Regions from separate parts of the Homo sapiens genome. Here region 2 is linked to region 1. Evidence: promoter capture Hi-C in 16 types of primary human blood cells and fetal thymus (Javierre and others, 2016). All regions are on one chromosome and are shown on one strand. The core of a region is centred on a gene start or on the middle of the fragment in contact, and the rest is flanking DNA. Distances in the headings are between cores, read along the strand shown. Region 1 holds the start of AHR (aryl hydrocarbon receptor). Region 2 overlaps POLR1F (RNA polymerase I subunit F).

The links. Contacts are between HindIII fragments. The CHiCAGO score rates a contact against its expected background, and 5 or more counts as called.
Region 2: a fragment that was not itself captured here is called in contact with the fragment with the promoter of AHR in region 1 in 1 of 17 cell types (total CD4 T cells); the score reaches 5.3 in total CD4 T cells.

The regions. Positions count from the first base shown.
Region 1 is chr7:17,295,665-17,302,540 of GRCh38, reverse strand. AHR (aryl hydrocarbon receptor) reads right to left here and starts at 3,889. Exons shown (of 11, transcript NM_001621.5): 1 at 3,212-3,889. The coding sequence starts at 3,276. LOC101927609 (a long non-coding RNA gene) reads left to right here and starts at 3,221. Exons shown (of 12, transcript XR_007060234.1): 1 at 3,221-3,481. RefSeq lists silencers at 3,215-3,264, 3,305-3,414, 3,465-3,614. The HindIII fragment of the contact is 6,297 bases long and covers 2,540-6,876 here.
Region 2 is chr7:19,698,971-19,705,846 of GRCh38, reverse strand. It overlaps POLR1F (RNA polymerase I subunit F), which reads left to right. Exons shown (of 4, transcript NM_001002926.2): 2 at 927-1,068; 3 at 5,567-5,775. It overlaps MIR3146 (microRNA 3146), which reads left to right and starts at 411; the gene lies at 411-489. The HindIII fragment of the contact is 1,578 bases long and covers 3,385-4,962 here.

The sequences.
Region 1 (6,876 bases), core at 2,640-5,139:
AAAAATGATGGAGAAATAATTGTGTAAATGAAAAGACCCATTCTTTTATTTTAGATGCTATTTTAAAAATGGCACCATAAATTTATAGAAAACATTTAATGAGTATTATGTAAGTAATACAATTCAGTATTACATATATGAAATTCATGACATTTAAAAAGAATAGCAAGACAATGCTTTTATATTATTAATATGTTAATAAAAGTAAAAGTTTTTATCAGTATGCATTTTAAAGAAAGATCAGCTAAGGCTCAGAAGTGACTTCCAGTTCTGACACTTCATAATGGCTTAATCACCACTACAGCTGGTATCATTTTAAAGTGTAGATCCCCTTTTCTCAACACCTATTATTTGCCAACATTCAGTGCTAACTTTCTATGTACAGGTAAGCTGAAATCCATTACAACTTTTTCTTTATGATTAAAACCTTAAAAATACAAAAATATATACAAAATTATCACTAGGGAAAAACATTCTATTTAATTATATAATGGCCTTTTTGACTATCTTCATGAGACAAAATAAATAAACACTTTCATTTCCAAAGAGAATAAAATAAACACAGGATTTGTTCTCTTTTTCTGAGTAGGGTCACTAAGTATGGGGCAACAGTCTAAGCAAAGTTATAGTAGATTCTATAATGAAAGTTATCTTTGATATTTTCTTCTTGAAGGTAGGAACATGAATTGGACGTAAAGTTGCTTCAGAGCCTTTAATTTCCCAACCTTCATTACTCCAAAAAGAAAGGAAATATTTATTGAGAGTCTACTATGTTGGAGATACTTCAGTGGGATTAAATTGAACACATTTAAAATGTATTTCCTACTAATAAAGATAATTTTCAATGTGAGAGCCGCCACTAGGGGGGGTTGATTTTTCTTAATAAATTCAACTCAAGATTGAAAGAGCTTCAGGTTACAATTGTCACCTACTTTACTCCAAAATTTTATGGAATACTTATATTCCATAAAATTTATATTTAATTGGCTGTCTTTTTAAACAGTCCTATAATAATGCTACAGCATATTTTATCTGTAAATAAAATAAAATGGCTCTCATTTAAGAGGTCAAAGTTAAGTAGGTCTGGATAGCATTTTCAGCTCAAAACAAGATCTATTTTCCCCAATGTTGGCATGTTTTGGGGCTCATTAGGCCACAAACTGGTAGTTTAATTTTAAAACTCAAATTTAATACTAGGTTTAATGACTTCATTTCTAAAATAAACTTTGATTAACTGCATTATAAAGTTAACAATTTTTCATTCAGGTAAAAATAATTTATATAAACACTTTCACTTGATAATGAAAATGCCAGCACTAGCCTATTCTTACAGAGCAAGCTGGTAATATTTAAGGCATCTGTATGATTAGAAGCAATATACGGTGCTCAGCAGAGATCTGATAAACATCTATGCTAACAAAATGTGGGTGAATGGAAAAAATACTTTTGTTATATTATAAGAAATTAATACAAGTATATTAAAAACTAAGTAAGTATAATATTAGGATAATCTAATAAAAAGTACATTTTACGCAAAATAACCAAAATCCATAAATGTTAAACTGTGTAATGAATACAAAATTATGGCATTTGTTTTTGTTTACAAAGCCATCCAGGTCCTTTGATAACACCCTAACTGAAACCCAGTATCTTAAAAACACATCAGGGAGATCTTCATGTTTTCTCACCATACACATAAAACCCATGACACCCCTATTATATATGATGCTAAGTGTATTATTATATTAATAAACACATAGAACAGACATTTGGGATGCCTCCCAACTTTAACCATCAATGACAATGTCAAATAAGACAAACATACTTTAATATAAGAAACCATTCTACAAAATTAAAAGTATTAATAACCGATGTCTCAAACTGCCAAGGTAGAAAACTGCTGGTTTGACAATATTCCCTTAAGACACACTGTACCATAAAACTTCCAAATTTTCATCAGTCTATTTATAGATTATTATCCTCTGTTAATGCCAATTCATAAGTATACTTCTGAAGAACTATGATAACTGAAATTCTGAAAGGAAACTAAAATTTTAGAATGAAACTTTAAACCAATAACTGGTTTTAAATGTAAATCTTAAAGTGTTATTTTTCTGGTTCCCATTAGTGATAGTTGGAGTCTAAGCAAAATGCACACTTCTGATTTGGTCTGAGAAGACGTTTAAGAGTTCTTAAAATTGTTTACGAAAACTTGAAACACATGTAGGTAAAGTAACTCAGAGATCTAGAAATAAAAAAATTGGAATAAACACATGAATACAACCACCTCACAACAGGAAATGTTTTGAGCACGGATAGTTTTTTCTGACACACACAAAAAATTGGCCATCTCACACAAATATTCCACCAAAATCAACCGACAACGACAAAAGCAAGTTTGTACTCACTCAACTAGAAGAAAACTTTGAAGGGGAAAAGAATTAGAGGTAGATGTTAAGAATGAAAACCTCTCTCAAATGCAGTTCTAAATCTTTTATTTTACAGACCCTAAAGCCACCCCAAAAGTGATAAGCAAGCTTCCGAAAAAGATGTCTGAAGAATACAAATCCTCCACCGTATCCTGTCCGTTGCATCCACTCCCACCTGCTACCACTTCTATCCACTTTACCGATATGGTCACGATGAGCGCTACAAAATTGCTGCCAAATAAGTAAATATGAGCGCAACACAAAGCCAGTTGGTGGGGACCAAAAAGTACCTTTAGAGGCACTCAGCCCCTTCGTAAAAGTCAGCATGTGTTTAGCTCTTTAAAACATCTCGCCTTACCAAACTCTACGAAGAATGAGAATTAAGACCGTCCTCTAACCTAACCCATGCGGATATGAAAAGTGGAAGGAGATTTCAAGACAGGTTTATACTAACTAATCCATTAGCCCAAGGCAGATCAGAGCTGTCAACAAATCAGGACCAAATCAGAAAGAACAAAGTTGCAAATGTGAGAGGGTGTGTATGCACTGGTGCGGGGGAAGAGGATGGGTGGGAGGACAATTTTTAAAATGCAATCATTGAAAACGGGAGAATCCAAGTCCTCTGTCTCCCAGCCGGCCTCCAAACCTCGATTCCACGGGCAGTGCCGGGAATGGACCTAATCCCAGGATCGCAGGGATTTGGGGGCGGGGTGGGGCTGCCTCCCGCACCCGCGTGCCTGAGCGCCCAGCCCCCGCGATGAGGACGCGCTCGGGACACTCACGTTTTCTGCACCGGCTTCCGCCGCTTGCGACTGGCGTAGGTGATGTTGGCGCTGCTGCTGTTCATGGTGCCCAGCCGACGGCGGCGGCTACTCCCCGGGCACTGGCGGCCGGGTCCCCGGAACCCGGTGTAGGCTGGGACCACTGCGGCGGCCGGCGCCGGGTTCCGCGAAGCCGCGCCCGCTCCACCTGCGTCCTCTCGGGACAGTGGCGTGGGCGCCGCGCCTCAACGCCTCGGCTCACGCAGGCTTCCGCAGCCCGCGCCAGTACAGGTGAGCTGCCTGGGCCTGGCGCAGTGAGGGTGGGCGAGGGGCGGAGACCCGCGAGCAAGGCGGCGCAGGTGCCGTCTACACCGGCGGAGGCGGCGCGGCAATGCCCGCAGGTGAGGCGGCCCGGGCGGAGGAGGAGCCTGGGCCGTCTATTTAGAATCCTGGCCTGGGTCGCTCACGGTGGCGCCGCGCCCCGTGACCGTCGCCGCGGCCCCTTGGGTGAGGGAGGTGCCGCCGCGCTGCTCCCGGGACTTCCTAAATCCAGGGTGCTTCCCGCCTGCGGAGCTCGGGCGCGGGCCACCAGTCCCGGCTGCTCCCAGCTTCCGTTCGGCTACACGGCTGCCCCTGTTCTGAGCTGGCGGTCCGGGGCACGCTCTCGGAACAGAGCGTCGACGGGACTCCCCAGCCACTGCCTCCCGCCGCCGCGCGCACCGGCTGAATAGCAGGAGCACCCCCGACCCCTCACCGGCCCCGCCCCGCCCAGATCCCGCGTAGCCCCGCCCCGTCCTGCTTGCCCCCGCCCATCTGGATTCCATTCCGTCTTCCTTGAGGGCCCCACCCTCATCCCGGCACGTGATGACGTAGGACGTAAGGACGCCCCCCCCCGCCGGTAGCCATCTTCGTGCATAGGCAAACTTATTGTAGCTAGACTGTACAAAGTATATCAAGATATGCCAAATATTGAGCTTAACTTCACCTGTTTGAGAGACGGTGGGTCAGCTAACTTGTGGCTAAGAATTACAATTAACTGGTAGACAACTGGTAGACAACCAATGGGACTGTATATTTTCCTAGTTGGGAAGGCTTCAGAAGGCCAGATTTGAGTTGAGACTTGAAGGCTAGGAGTTTCCTTGACCTTTTTTGGTGTGCGGGGGAAGTCTTTACAATAGACAGGAATATAGATAATAAGGGGACTATTATGTATTGTGTCATGGAGGACCATGTGGAAAAATATTGGGAGTAATTAACAATATTGAATACTGTTGAGAAATTCAAATTAGTTGAGAACTGAAAATGTCATTCTTGTTTTCTCAATGTGTAGTCACTGATGACTTTCGTGAATGCAGTGTTGGGGTAATGGGCCTGCAAATAACATTGAAGTGGGTACAGGATTGAGCTGAAGATAACAAAATGGCATCCTCAAGCAGGCAATTTTTCTTCCAAGTTTAGCTGTGGATGAGAGACACATCAGATTGTATGTAGGGGGAGTGAAGGGTTAAATGAGGGTTTTCTAGTTTTGGTTTAGTTCTTTAATGGGCGATACTGAGCGGCTTAGAGGGGGTAGAGATAAACTATGTAGGGAACCTGAGGGAAGAGTGAAGGAATGATAGATATTAAGATACCGAAAGCAGGAGGGAATGAGTGCCAAAGCATAAATGGGAGATTAGGACTAATAGATTAGATACTAACAGAAACAGCACTTACAGTGCTTTGCTATTCAGAGTACTCCACAGCTTCTTTTGAGAGTTACAGGAAATGCAGACTCTTTGGGTGTCCTTATTAAATCAGAACCCGAAGTTCACAGGAACTCCCAGGTGATTCAAATGTACATAAAGTTGGAGGAGCAGTTCTCTACCATAGCTGGAGGAAAGAAGGACAGTGGGTGAGATATAGTAGGCTACTAAATTTTGGATCAGAAAAATGAAGGAGATGTAACAAAGAGGGTATTCTAGCATGAGCTACAAAAGAACAATTGTGTTTTGTGGTCGATGATCTTTGTTTTAATTTTAGAAGAGCATAAAGTGAAAGTGATCTGGGAAGTGACAACAAGGAAGTAGATGGACATCCACCCTGTATCCTGTGATAAGAGAAAATAATTAGGCAGTATTGGGGAGACCTTTAGGAAAGTGATAGCCTCAGTAAGCCACCTTTCAGTTTAAGGAAAAAGATGGAGCAAATTCCCAAAGAAGACAGTGTACACTGGGAAAGTTTGATGTTTATGAATTAGCAATTGCAGAGGCAGAATCAACCATCTCTATTTTTCCCTTCTCTTTCATTTCTTCATTTATCTGTGCTTACTTATAGCCATTCTATCTAAAACGTGTAAGTGTAAAAGAATAATTTCCTCCTAGCTAGGAACTTTAAGGGTGAAAAATTTATATCAAAACATAATTTATTGATTCTGTAGCTTATAACTCCTCTTCATAAAAGAGATGTACTAAATGCAATGAACCAATCTTAATTTAGTGATTTAAAAAAATCCTACCCTTTTTAAGGTTGTTGGCTATTTGGTGCAGTCATTTTCTACCTTATTTTGACTTTCATACCCTTATTTTTTTATGGTTAAGTTTAGGATTATTTTCATTATCCAGAAGTCATATGCTATATTATGTTACATAGTCTTAGTTAAGTAACAGATCTTTGCATAATTAAGATTAAAATTGAATATCAACAAAATTCCCAGAATTCATTTTATTTTAATAGTGACATGAACTTACCTTAACAGTTTTGCTGGCATGTGAATACAGTATAGTGTAGTGCCATTTTTAAAAAATGAGCTGCCATTATCTAGAAACTTCCTGTATTGGCACTGTGGAACATGGTTCTCAAAGTATGGTTTGTGTCCATCTGCTAAGATTTAAAAACTTTTTTGTGAGCAGTTTTTTTTTTTGTAGTTACGTGATTTTTATCTCATAATAATTAATTTGGCTATAAGAGTCGGTGAACATTTGATTACCTTATCCAAAGAACATCCTTTTAATCAATTGGGTTGAGCTTAGTTTCTGAGGTTTCAGATGCAGCTGTATGTGTATGGGTTTCTTTCTCCTGCGAAATAGTATGAGAAAAATGTTTTAGGAATGCTATTATAAATATCAGCTGTTCTTGAATAAAGGAAAATAATCAAAATGAATGCTAAACCTATTCTATCACAGTTCATTTCACTAAGCAAGATTTTAGCCCCTATAATATACCAGACACTGTGGGTTACAGTAGTGATATCAGACATGTTCTTTCCTCTTAGAGCTTACATTCTAATGAGAGAGACAAGAATTAACCAGATAGTTACACAAATGAATGTATAATTACAACTGGGACAAGTACTGTGAAATGAATACTGTGAGAATGTATAATAGGTGGATTTAACTTGGTAAGGGTAACTTGGTAACCTCCCTGAGGGAGCTTGAGCTGAGTTTTGAGGCATAGGTAGGCATTTTATAGGTAGGCATAGGTAGGCATTTTATAGGTGACCTGGGGAGGAAGGGGAATTTCATGCAGACTGAACATGTATCACTTTTTAATCTCCTCTTCAATTCTGCAGCTCCTTACTTCAGGCCCTCAGAATTGTCTTTTACAGTTTACAACACACATTGTAGCTATATGAAGTATTTTACAGAGGGTAGTCCATGCTTCCTAAACTATGTACTGAGGCACCCCAGGAGCACCACAACAAACTCACA
Region 2 (6,876 bases), core at 2,924-5,423, 2.4 Mb before region 1:
AGATGGAGTCTCCCTCTGTCGCTCAGGCTGGAGTGCAGTGCTGAGATCTCAGCTCACCACACCCTCCGCCTCCCACCACTAGGTCTTTCTCCTTAATAGTTATAATTCCTTAAAAGCTAAGAAATAACAGTTTGAAAAATAGTTGTCCCTTAATCATGACTGTTACATTTGTAGACTAAAGTGTCAGTCAGTTCCTAAATAATGTAGTTGTATTAACATTTGCATTTACTATCAACAGTTGAAGTTTGGGATTTTCTCTATTAAGTCATTGACTTTAAAATTCAGGGGCTTCAGCTTTAACCGTAATGCTTCCCTTGTTATACGCCGTCAAGTACTGAAATTCAGTAATGGTGAATAATACCAAAATTGCCTCTTATTCAGTCATGTCCACAGAGATACACATTTTCTTTGCTAAGTCCCTTCTTTCTATCCTAGTATAACTTGAAGAATTCAAATAGTCATGCTAGGATAGAAAGAATGGGACTTGGCCAGGGAAGAAGAGTTGATTTACTGCTAATGCATTAATTGGGCATTTTGTTTCTGTGTATCTTGAGTCATCATTTTAACTTAGCCAACACATCAGAATCCATTGGTGAAATGGGACTACTAAAGTTGTTACAGACTAATCATATACTATTGTTTTTGACATAGGTGGTGTATTTAGGAGATGTGTAAGTTTTGGATAGAATATCTAATCAGTATGAAAATGGCCTGGTTTGAAAGAGTGCAGTGGTGCACACCTATAATCTCAGCACTTTGGGAGGCTGAGGCAGAAGGATCAATTGAGCCCAGGAGGTCGAGGCTGCAGTGAGCCCTGTTGATGTCACTGCACCCTATCCTGGGTGACAGAGCAAGACCCTGTCTCCAAAAACATAAATAAATAAAAGACGATAAAAGGTATCATTTTCAACTTTTTCTTTTTACAGCCTTTTAGGTGTCCCTATTGCATATGATAACATCAAAGTTGTGGGAGAGCTTGGAGATATTTATGATGATCAAGGACACATTCATCTTAACATTGAAGCCGATTTTGTTATTTTCTGCCCTGAACCAGGGCAGAAGCTTATGGTATGTGTATCACTTTTTTCTAGCTCCCTTTGTATAATTCTATAATTATGTAACTTGGAACATTTTAAGAGATAATATATACCTTGGGACTCAAATAAATTGCTATTGTGAGTAAATAAATATTATTTTTAAGGAAAAATTAATTTGTATCATTCAAACGTAGGTAAGTTTTTGAATATCCTCCTAAAACACATACATGCACACGATATATGTCCCATCCACTTTATTCTTTTCATAGTAGCAGAATGATTTTAAGGGCAAAAAAATCAATTATCATTATTATTTCAAAAGTTCTCAATTCTACACAAATACTATTTCTTTATAAAGGATTCAAAGAATATAGCAGTATATGAAACAGGAATTCAAATGGGCCAGGCAGTAATGAAAATTTATCAATGACAGAGGACAGGGCAGCCAGTCTGTGCCTTGGAAATGGAAGCTCTGTGGGAAAGGTCTTCCAGTTTTTCATAAGCTGGAAATGCAGATATTGATACAAAATCTGCTGAAATAGATCCTTTTTTACTCTTTACTTTCTCCTCTCTTCCTCCAGCAGTTCTCTGTGTGTATACACATGTTCGTATGTATACTTGTATGTGTGTGTATATGTTCTTTTCCTTAGCTGATAAATATTTTAATAGATCAGAACTGTTAACCCTTGATATTGTTCATAAAAATATAGATCAATTTAACCATGACAAAACCCACAAGACACTTCCAATTTTTTTCATTTTTCAATATCAAATTAATACAAGTAGTATCCTTTGCCTGTTAAACTGGGATCTTATAACTGGACTACTAAAGTTGGCAGTAGATTTGTATTTGGAAATTAACAAACTTAACTTTCATCTACTTTGTGTAAATTATTATTTTAAATATAAACATGTAGGCCAGCCACAGTGGCTCACACCTACAATCACAGCATTTTGGGAAGCTGAGGCAGGAGGATCACTTGAGGCCAGGAGTTTAAGACCAACGTGGGCAACATAGTGAGACCTCATCTCTACACAAAATAAAAAATTAGCCAGTCATGGTGGCATGCATCTGTAGTCCCAGTTACTCAGGAGGCTGGGGTAGGAGGATCACCTGAGCCCAGGGGTTCAAGGCTGCAGTGAGCTATGATTGCGCCAATGCATTCCAGCCTAGGCAACAGTGAGACCCTGTCTGTAAAAATACACACACACATACACGGAAATAACATATATACATGTACATGGAAATAACAGATTGTAGAAAAAGTATGAAATGAAAAATATCCCTTTTAATCTACCTACTACAAGATCCACTCCTCAAATATTTTTGACCACCCACTTTTCCTTCAATTATTATTATTAATATTTGGTGAGATAAAATTTACATATAATAAAATGCACAGATCATATTGTTCAGTTCAGTGAATTTCGTCAGGTCTGTATACCATTCCATCTCCTTAGAAAGGATCTTCATGCCCTTTCCTGGCCCAATTCCTTCTCTTTATTGCAGATATAATTACTCTTCTGATTTTATCATAAGTTGGTTTTGCTTATTCTATAGTTCCATATTAATGGAATTATTCATTATACATTCTTAAAATCTGCCGCCTTTTGATCAGCATGTTTTTGAGTTTCATCCATGCTGTTGTGTGTATTGGTAGTTTGTTCCTTTTTATTGCTCATGGTATTCAGTTATATGACTATATCACAATATAATTATCTGTCTTCATTGATGGATTGATTCCAGGCTGGGGCTTTTATGAATAAAGCTATTGAAAACATATATTTTCAGACATATGAATGAAAACATACATTTTCATTTCTCTTAAGTAAATAACTAGAAGCAGAAGAGCTAGTTCACAGGGTATTTATATAAAACCATTGTCAGACTGATTTCCCATTCAACACTTCATTTACTCTGTATCGTTATTAACATTTGCTATTGTCCTTTAATTGTACTGATGGGCATATAGTAGTATCTCATTATGGTTTTAATTTGCATTTCCGTTTCCCTCATAAGCAATTTTTCATATATTTCAGTAAGAAGGGCCTGTTCAAGTATTTTGCCCATTTTTAATTGGGTTTTTGTATTTTTATTATTGACTTATAGCAGTTCTTTTTAGTCTTAAAATGAATTCTTTTCAGATAAGTATTTTGAATATTTTCTTCCAATCTGTGACTTGTCTGTTAACTTGTAATGGTATTATTTGATGAACAGTTACTTTTAATTTTGATGAGGTCCAATTTATCATTTTATATGTTTATGACTATTGCTTTCTGGACCCTATCAAAGAAATTTGTCTGCCGAAAAGTTGTGCAGATACTGTTCTGTCGACTTCTACAAGCTTTTAGTTTTAGCTTTTCCATTTAAGTCTGTGATCATTCTCAAATAATTTTTGTGTGTAGTGTGAGGTAGGCCTTGAGATCCACTCTCTCCTTCATGTAGCTTTCCCGTTGTTCTGGATTCATATATTAAAAAACCTTTTCTTTCATTGATTTTCTGAAATTGACATATTTTTAACAGCAGTTTTAGGTTTACAGAAAAATTGAATGGAGAGTATAGAGTTCCCATATAACCACCCCCTTTCCCCTATTATCAACATTAACTTGCATTAGTATGGTGCATTTGTTACCATTTTTGTGCCAATATTGATACATTATTATCAAGTAAAGTCTGTAGTTTACATTAGAGTTCAGTCTTTGTGTTGTACATTCTATGAGTTTCCACAAATGTGTCATGGCATTTATTGAGGTATTGCTCCTCACAAGAGGGCATTAGCTGCGGGGGTCTGCCTGCAGACCTTGACCTAAAAGATGGATGAATGAAACGTACACTGACACACAGATATTGCTTTGCCAGTACTGCTGAGTGTCCGACTGCCTACACACCGAGAGAGGTTTGTCACTGCCGCTGGCCCTGAGTAGTTCACACTCCAGGCATTTATTTCGTATACAATTAACAACAGAAGCTCTGAGTCCACACACTTTTGGATAATTAACATGGTTAAGTGAGTAGTTCTATGAATGATTAAAGCTCAGGTACCGAGGTTTAAAGTAAATATCACTGGGGGCAATATCCCTGCCCCCCCAGAGGCCATCTGACTTAAAGGTTAGTTAACAGAGGTAGGGTAAACAGACTTAACTGGGGAAGCCTCTATTGTCCCTAGTATTTACTCTGTAACTTAATGCTCTAAGGTAAGAACCGGCTGTCTTCGGCCTGTTCAGCTATTACAAGCTATGTAACCTTTTGGCCTTCCAAAAAGGTTTGTGACTATTCCCTATAACTTTCCCTAATATTTCCCTTTAATATTTCTGCCACTATCCTGAGTGAATCCCAACAACTTATCTTCCATTATAGTATGATACGGAATAGTTATCCTCTCCTAAAAACCGCTTGTGCTCCACCTATTCATTTCTCCCTTCTTCCCTCCGTTCCCTGTAATCCCTGGCAACCACTGATCTTTTTACTGTTTCCGTAGTTTTGCCTTTTTAAAGAAGAAGAATAGAGTATGTATCCTTTTCAAATTGACTTCTTTCACTTAGCAATATGCATTTAAGGTTTCGCTATGTCTTTTTATGGTGAGAACTTATTTATCTTTATTACTGAATAATCTTTTATTTTATAGCTGTACCAGTTTGTTTATCTAGACCATCTGGAAACTACCAGTGGGAACACTAGACTTCTGATCATACCAGATAGGGAAGTTTTATTCTGTCACATGTGTAAAGGGTTGCTGATGTTAAACAGCATTGTATACACATCGGCATTATTTGCAGTTTCATAATTCAGAAAATGTGAATTTTTAATATTTCTGAGTCTCATTTATATGCTTTGTATATATTGACCCTGAGAAGAAAAATAAGTTTTATGCAAAGTCTCATCTTAAAATCATATAGCACATACTTTTGTTTTAGTTTTAAAGCTTCTAATAATACTTTCGTGATTTAGCCAAAAAATAGTCATGGTCAATATTTACATTTAAAGGGTAAGCTGTCTTCTAATGGAATGCTTGCATCATGCTAAATTAAATAATTAAAGAATGCATTTTTAAGCTTTGAAATTTGGTCTATTTACAGAAACGTAACATGGATCCCAGTTATAAAACGCATATGAGGTCTTTTTAGAAGTTATATGGGGTTTGCTTGGTTTCAATGTAGCTAAAGAGTAATACTGTCCTCCCTAAGGAATCCTGCAGTGGGGAGTTGAGATGGTTTTTTTTCTTGGACAGGGTGGCGGGGGCAGGTTAGTTTATCCAGTTAGAAAGTTAATGTGCCCAGTTAGACAGTTAATGTGCAATTACTTATATAATAAAGTTTGAGCTTTCTCAAAACCCAGTGGTATTCTAAAGTGATGTTTTGGCATGACATGTGGTAAGTTTTAATTGAGGTAAACTTTTTCCATATTAAATTAGACCATTAATTTGATGTTTGTTCTTTGAAGATTATTTGAAGCTTGTAAAGTTTGGTTCACCTTTTAACTTTGTGGATGTGTTCTTTATGTTACGCTCTTTCTTCCTTCTTCTTCCCAGGGTATAGTTAATAAAGTGTCTTCTAGCCACATTGGCTGTTTAGTACATGGGTGTTTCAATGCCTCCATTCCTAAACCTGAGCAGTTGTCAGCTGAGCAGTGGCAAACCATGGAGATAAACATGGGTGATGAACTAGAATTTGAAGTATTTCGTTTAGACTCAGATGCTGCTGGAGTATTCTGCATTCGGGGAAAACTAAATATCACAAGGTTAGTTTATCATTACGTAATTATCACTAGGTACTTAATTTCTATTTAATTCTGAATTTTAAAGAGAATTTTATTTTAATTTTAAAGAGAATAAGCCTCTCTAAAAATACCTGTTTATAGGAATATTCATGCTTTCAAACCATAAAGTCAATATAAACAATACTCTTAAGTAATCTGTAACAGTGCATCAAATAAATATTCTGAAACACAGACTAGCTAACTGGTCTGTATTTTAATATTTAATAGTTCAATTTTGCTGAGTATTTTCTATTTTGTTGTTAACTTTTTTTTTAAAGTTGACCTCTAAACTTGAAACTACTGAAAGCACAATTACCTTCCTAACTATTGGCCTGCTTTGTTTTTACACACAAAAAATTGTGTTGATTATTGTCTTCTGTGCCAGATATTTTAATTTCTGTATTATTCTGTATAGAAATTATTATAAGAATTAACTCTGATCTTGAGCTTGATTCCATGGGAGCCAAGTTTAAAGGAAGAAGGAGAGAGACAACTCTTAAAATGCTGCTATTGCTAATAATTTTTTCTGTATTTTGCCTTAAAGTTACAAGAGTATGGGTTGAAGTTCTGGAACAGCTGTTCAATTTCTGTAATGACAGAAATACAGTTTATATACATAGTACAGCAGCCTCACTATTGAGCATTGAAATATGACTAAGTCTGACTGAGGAACTGAATTTCTAAAGTTATGTTTTTGGTAGTGATTAGGTACATGTGCCTAGTGCTACTGTATAAGACTGAAGTTCTGGAGAGAAAGCTACTTCATCGATCCATGTTTTATTTTAGTGGTGTAAAATAATTCACAATGTTAAAGTAATACTATCTTAGTATCAGCTAAGTAGAACAATGGACTATTATTTGAAACAAGATTAAAATAGTAGACTGGAAACTCCATTGCTTTGATAAATACCAGATCATATTTTCTATTAGATGTCAGTGGTTTGGTTAATAAGCCTAGGTATTGTGGTGTTTAATGTTCAGTGACCAAATTTTTCTGAAACAACCCAAAACTTGGAAGACATGTTTTGACAAGATTTTTATGTCATTTTTATGTGTGGAAACAGTCTGGGAGAAGTTATTCAT